Regions from separate parts of the Homo sapiens genome. Here region 1 is linked to region 2. Evidence: promoter capture Hi-C in 16 types of primary human blood cells and fetal thymus (Javierre and others, 2016). All regions are on one chromosome and are shown on one strand. The core of a region is centred on a gene start or on the middle of the fragment in contact, and the rest is flanking DNA. Distances in the headings are between cores, read along the strand shown. Region 1 has its middle 15 kb from the start of LINC02909. Region 2 holds the start of KRAS (KRAS proto-oncogene, GTPase).

What was found. Contacts are between HindIII fragments. The CHiCAGO score rates a contact against its expected background, and 5 or more counts as called.
Region 1: a contact is called between a fragment that was not itself captured here and the fragment with the promoter of KRAS in region 2, in 1 of 17 cell types (neutrophils). The highest score is 6.6, in neutrophils.

What each region holds. Positions count from the first base shown.
Region 1 is chr12:25,010,440-25,013,585 of GRCh38, reverse strand. It overlaps a transcript of IRAG2 not described here. Among named protein-coding and RNA genes, the nearest start is that of LINC02909, 15 kb to the right of the region's middle. The HindIII fragment of the contact is 5,001 bases long and covers 1-3,146 here.
Region 2 is chr12:25,248,979-25,252,254 of GRCh38, reverse strand. KRAS (KRAS proto-oncogene, GTPase) reads left to right here and starts at 1,326. Exons shown (of 5, transcript NM_004985.5): 1 at 1,326-1,504. RefSeq lists silencers at 766-1,615, 1,676-1,725. The HindIII fragment of the contact is 14,779 bases long and covers 1-3,276 here.

The DNA.
Region 1 (3,146 bases), core at 351-2,850, 240 kb after region 2:
TACCTTCTACCTTCTATATTAGCATTTACAATTAATTATCTTTCTTATCTTTCTTAAAGTTACATTACTTCTCAAAGAGCCTGCCTTTTGTCTTTTGTTTTTGTTTTGGAGACAGGGCCTTGCTCTCTTGCCCAGGCTGAAGTGTAGTGGCTCTGTCACAGCTTACTGCAGCCTCAAACTCCTGGGCTCAAGCAATCCTCCTGCTTCAGCCTCACAAGTAGCCTGGACTACAGGCGCATGCCACCACTCCTGGCTAATTTTAAAATTTTTTTGTAGAGACAGAATCTTGCTAAGTTGCCCAGACTGGTCTCAAACTCCTGGCCTCAGGTGATGCTCCCGCCTTGGCCTTCCAAAGTGCTGGGATTACAGGCACGAGCCACCACCCCCGGCCAAGACTGCATATTTTTAAGGGCCTGATACACATTCCTAAATTGCTCTTAAAAAAGCTATGCTAACTTGCACTACTACCAATAATATATGGGAGGGCTTATTTCTCCACCCTTTTCACAGTCCACCACATGGGCTAGAGTCATTTTTTAAAAATCTTTGTTAAACTCATGGGTAGAAATGTTATATCTGTATTTGCAGTTTTTGATTACACTAACATTACTTATTTCTATATATTTATCTTGACTTCATGAATAACCTGTGTATGGCATGCAACATTTCAGTCATATTTTCTTAAGTTATCTATACATCCTAATCCTACCAGAAATCTGGTAAGTTTTTCCGTTCCTTGGGCTTGACATTTTCTCTCTTTTTGAGACGGAGTCTCTGTTGCCTAGGCTAGAGTGCTATGGCACGATCTCGGCTCACTTCAACCTCCACCTCCCAGGTTCAAGCAATTCTCCCGCCTCAGCTTCCCACGTGATTGGGATCACAGGCGTGAACCACCACGCCCAGCTAATTTTTGTATTTTTAGTAGAGACAGGGTTTCACCACGTTGGCCTGGCTGGTCTCCAACTGCCAACCTCAGCTGTTCCACCTGCCTCAGCCTCCCAAAATGCTGGGATTACAGGTGTGAGCCATCGCGCCCTGTCAACATTTTCTTTAAGCAAATCCTAGCATGCATCAGCAGATAGCTGAAGATTGGTGGCTGAATAGGAGGCATAGGAATTAGGTTTCTTGGCTAGGTGCAGTGGGTGGCTCACACCTGTAATCCCAGCACTTTGGGAGGCCGAGGTGGGCAGATCAGCTGAGATCAGGAGTTCGAGACCAGCCTGGACAACATGGTGAAACCCCTTCTCTACTAAAAATACAAGCATTAGCCGGGCATGGTGGCACACACCTGTGATTCCAGCTACTCTGGAGGGTGTGGCGGGAGAATTGCTTGAACCCGGGAGGCAGCGGTTGCAGTGAGCAGAGATTGCATCACTGTATTCCAGCCTGGGCAACAGAGTGAAACTCCGTCTCAGAAAAAAAAAAAAAAAAAAAAAAAAAAGGGAATTCGCTTTCTGTGGAAGAAGACACACATCTCCAGCATCTGCCAAGGGCACCTGAGATCATGGGGTGCCCTTCTCCTCCTTTACCTTTTTCTTTTTCCTATTCTACTATTCTTTCTTGTTCCCCTTAGCCTCCCTATATTCTAGGATTCCAAATTACATTCACTGACTAGCCCCACTGCCCTTAAAAGGGAGTCTATTATTGAATTTAAATACATTTGGAGATTTGATAGTATCAATAATTCACCTGACTCGTATGTCAGCTCAATTCTCTGTGAGAGTATCACATGTGCTCCCCACTAATCACAAGAAATGAATGACAGCAGTGGTTCCCAAAGCATGTCCAGCCCACTCCCAGCATCAATATCATCGGAAACTTGTTAGAATGTAAATTATCAGGCTTCACCCCAGATCTGCTGAATCATGATGGTGGGACCCCAGCAATCAGGTTTAACATCATTCAGGTGATTCTAATGCATGCTAAAGCACTGGACAATAGTATTTCCATCAACACAGGAAACAGTGATTAGCATAATTATAATCAGTTGTTAAAATAGAACCTTAAACTGCATCCCACTAGGACTCTGATTACCATGTGTTTCCACAGTAAGCCATCCAGTCTTTCATCATGGCCTGGAAAGTTTCCAGGTCCACATGTGGGTCTCTCTTCTCAGGATCAAGCATGTTCCACAACTGCTCAAGGCCACTGTCTTCAGAATTTTGGCTAGTTGTTTGTCTCAGGAAATTGATTATTTTGGCCACTCCGACTGAGCCTTTGGAAAAAGAAGAGCAGATCAGTTCTGAAAGACAGAAAAGTTATATTTTTCACAAGTGAAGCACCTATCTCTTTAATGTTTCCTGATCCTAGAAACATGATATATAACCCTGGCAGTCCTGCGGAGCTGGCATGGTATATTGTAAAGAACACTGGCCTTGGGCTAAAGTCTAATGGACCTAGTGTCAAATCTTGGCTCTGAAGATTACCAGCTGTGTAGCTTTGGGAATATTAACCTCTCTGAACCTGTTTCTTTATCTGAGATGGGGACGATGATACCTATCACACAGAGTTGCGAGGTTTAAATATTGATGATATATGTAATCAATAATTTCTCATGGGAGGTGACCAAAATGACATTACATTTTTTCCTTTCAGTTCCTTGAAAAGCCTTCAATGAAGGAAGTTTTTTTCTCTACTTTAGTTAAAATTTCAATCTCAAGTGAAAATTTCTACTTTTTAGGGGGTGGAGGAGGCATTTTTAGACAGTCATCCCTACTATCACATTCAGAAAAGAAAATCATCCAAACTATGTTAGTCATTGACACACCAATCTTTTTTAAACATAAGACTTTTCTTTTACTCCCATCAAAGGCCTGCCTTGGGCTGGCTACTTGCAAAGGAGAGGGAAAAATTAAGTAGAAGTTTGAGAGGGCAGATGCCACAGAGAAGGTTCTTCCCTTAAGGAAATAAGGATAGACCATGACATCAGAAAAAAAAAAGTCTCTTAATTAGAAGGAGGAGATACTCATAAAGGAGGCTGAATAACTTCAAAGTTTTTAATAACTTTAACATTATTTAAACTTAACATGTCATTTAGATGTGACACTATTAGAAAGAGAAATAAAATGACTAATACAGTTATTTAGAGAGAGAACTGTTTTTTTTTTTTGTTTGTTTTTTGACACAGGGTCTTGCTATGTTGCTCA
Region 2 (3,276 bases), core at 77-2,576:
TAGGCACATTTTCTCCCCTTCCCTGTCTTTCACTTTTCTCTTCTGCCCCTTCCACCTGGCGCTAGGAGGGGGAGACTGGAATAAACCTTGCAGATTACAGCCCGTGTAAGAGTAGAAAGGAAAGGATGACAGTTGATGTAAAGCCTTGGTTAACAGACATAATAGCTGGGATTTAAATTCAGCTTTATTGGTGGTTTATGATGTGGACTAGAGGAATGGAACTGAAAGTCTCGGAGGAGGGGCGATCCTATCAGGTACAGGCGCTGCTTTTCCAGCCCTCAATCCTCAAGACTCTCCCAAGATACATTTCTAGGTAGTTTATCAACACAGACTCCGGGTATGCTAGCATGTTTAATTGCCCCATTGTTTAATGTCTTAACTCCACGAACTTTAACTGATTAATCTGTCTTCTAATTAATGTTTGAATGACTCTCCTCAGGTCTAAACTACCAAGGCCATCTCTACTTAAAAACAGTTGTCTTTTGTTTGTGATTTCAGGGGCCCTGGGTATAAGCGAAGTCCCTGTTTAGAGACCTTGTGATGGGTTCAAAATATCAAGAAAGATAGCAAAATATCACAAGCCTCCTGACCCGAGAAGATTAGCGTTGAAAGGGTCTGTCGTGTTTGTTTGGGCCTGGGGCTAAATTCCCAGCCCAAGTGCTGAGGCTGATAATAATCGGGGCGGCGATCAGACAGCCCCGGTGTGGGAAATCGTCCGCCCGGTCTCCCTAAGTCCCCGAAGTCGCCTCCCACTTTTGGTGACTGCTTGTTTATTTACATGCAGTCAATGATAGTAAATGGATGCGCGCCAGTATAGGCCGACCCTGAGGGTGGCGGGGTGCTCTTCGCAGCTTCTCTGTGGAGACCGGTCAGCGGGGCGGCGTGGCCGCTCGCGGCGTCTCCCTGGTGGCATCCGCACAGCCCGCCGCGGTCCGGTCCCGCTCCGGGTCAGAATTGGCGGCTGCGGGGACAGCCTTGCGGCTAGGCAGGGGGCGGGCCGCCGCGTGGGTCCGGCAGTCCCTCCTCCCGCCAAGGCGCCGCCCAGACCCGCTCTCCAGCCGGCCCGGCTCGCCACCCTAGACCGCCCCAGCCACCCCTTCCTCCGCCGGCCCGGCCCCCGCTCCTCCCCCGCCGGCCCGGCCCGGCCCCCTCCTTCTCCCCGCCGGCGCTCGCTGCCTCCCCCTCTTCCCTCTTCCCACACCGCCCTCAGCCGCTCCCTCTCGTACGCCCGTCTGAAGAAGAATCGAGCGCGGAACGCATCGATAGCTCTGCCCTCTGCGGCCGCCCGGCCCCGAACTCATCGGTGTGCTCGGAGCTCGATTTTCCTAGGCGGCGGCCGCGGCGGCGGAGGCAGCAGCGGCGGCGGCAGTGGCGGCGGCGAAGGTGGCGGCGGCTCGGCCAGTACTCCCGGCCCCCGCCATTTCGGACTGGGAGCGAGCGCGGCGCAGGCACTGAAGGCGGCGGCGGGGCCAGAGGCTCAGCGGCTCCCAGGTGCGGGAGAGAGGTACGGAGCGGACCACCCCTCCTGGGCCCCTGCCCGGGTCCCGACCCTCTTTGCCGGCGCCGGGCGGGGCCGGCGGCGAGTGAATGAATTAGGGGTCCCCGGAGGGGCGGGTGGGGGGCGCGGGCGCGGGGTCGGGGCGGGCTGGGTGAGAGGGGTCTGCAGGGGGGAGGCGCGCGGACGCGGCGGCGCGGGGAGTGAGGAATGGGCGGTGCGGGGCTGAGGAGGGTGAGGCTGGAGGCGGTCGCCGCTGGTGCTGCTTCCTGGACGGGGAACCCCTTCCTTCCTCCTCCCCGAGAGCCGCGGCTGGAGGCTTCTGGGGAGAAACTCGGGCCGGGCCGGCTGCCCCTCGGAGCGGTGGGGTGCGGTGGAGGTTACTCCCGCGGCGCCCCGGCCTCCCCTCCCCCTCTCCCCGCTCCCGCACCTCTTGCCTCCCTTTCCAGCACTCGGCTGCCTCGGTCCAGCCTTCCCTGCTGCATTTGGCATCTCTAGGACGAAGGTATAAACTTCTCCCTCGAGCGCAGGCTGGACGGATAGTGGTCCTTTTCCGTGTGTAGGGGATGTGTGAGTAAGAGGGGAGGTCACGTTTTGGAAGAGCATAGGAAAGTGCTTAGAGACCACTGTTTGAGGTTATTGTGTTTGGAAAAAAATGCATCTGCCTCCGAGTTCCTGAATGCTCCCCTCCCCCATGTATGGGCTGTGACATTGCTGTGGCCACAAAGGAGGAGGTGGAGGTAGAGATGGTGGAAGAACAGGTGGCCAACACCCTACACGTAGAGCCTGTGACCTACAGTGAAAAGGAAAAAGTTAATCCCAGATGGTCTGTTTTGCTTGGTCAAGTTAAACCCGAAGAAAACCCGCAGAGCAGAAGCAAGGCTTTTTCCTTGCTAGTTGAGTGTAGACAGCAATAGCAAAAATAGTACTTGAAGTTTAATTTACCTGTTCTTGTCCTTTCCCCTATTTCTTATGTATTACCCTCATCCCCTCGTCTCTTTTATACTACCCTCATTTTGCAGATGTGTTCTACATCTCAAGAGTTATTACAGTACTCCAAAACAGCACTTACATGATTTTTTAAACTTACAGAGGAATTGTAGCAATCCACCAGCTAACCGCCTGAAATAGACTTAAACATGTGCATCTCCTTTTTTTTTTTTTTTTTGAGACACAGTCTCGCTCTGTTGCCCAGGCTGGAGTGCAATGGCGCGGTATCGGCTCACTGAAACCTCCGCCTCCTGGGTTCAAGCAATTCTCCTGCCTCAGCCTCCCGAGTAGCTGGGACTAGTAGGTGCACGCCACCATGCCCAGCTAATTTTTGTATTTTTAGTAGAGACAGAGTTTCATCATGTTGGTCAGGATGGTCTCCATCTGCTCTGTTGCCCAGGCTGGAGTGCAGTGGCGCCGTCTCGGCTCACTGCAACCTCTGCCTCCTGCATTCAAGCAATTCTCCTGCCTCAGCCTCCCGAATAACTGGGATTACAGGTGTCTGCTGCCATGCCCGGCTAATTTTTTGTATTTTTAGTAGAGACGGGGGTTTCACCATGTTGGTCAGGCTGGTCTAGAACTCCTGACCTCGTGATCTGCCCGCCTCGGCCTCCCACAGTGGCATGTGCATCTTATAGCTGAAGTCTAAGCCTTCTTAAATCTTGAGATCCATCAAAACAGACAGGTTTTCTAATTGTTATACAATGTATATGTTATGTTTATAATAGAAATCATTTTACAAATAAGTTATAAATGGGAAAGGTCTATTTGTAATTATCAGCTCAGAATTA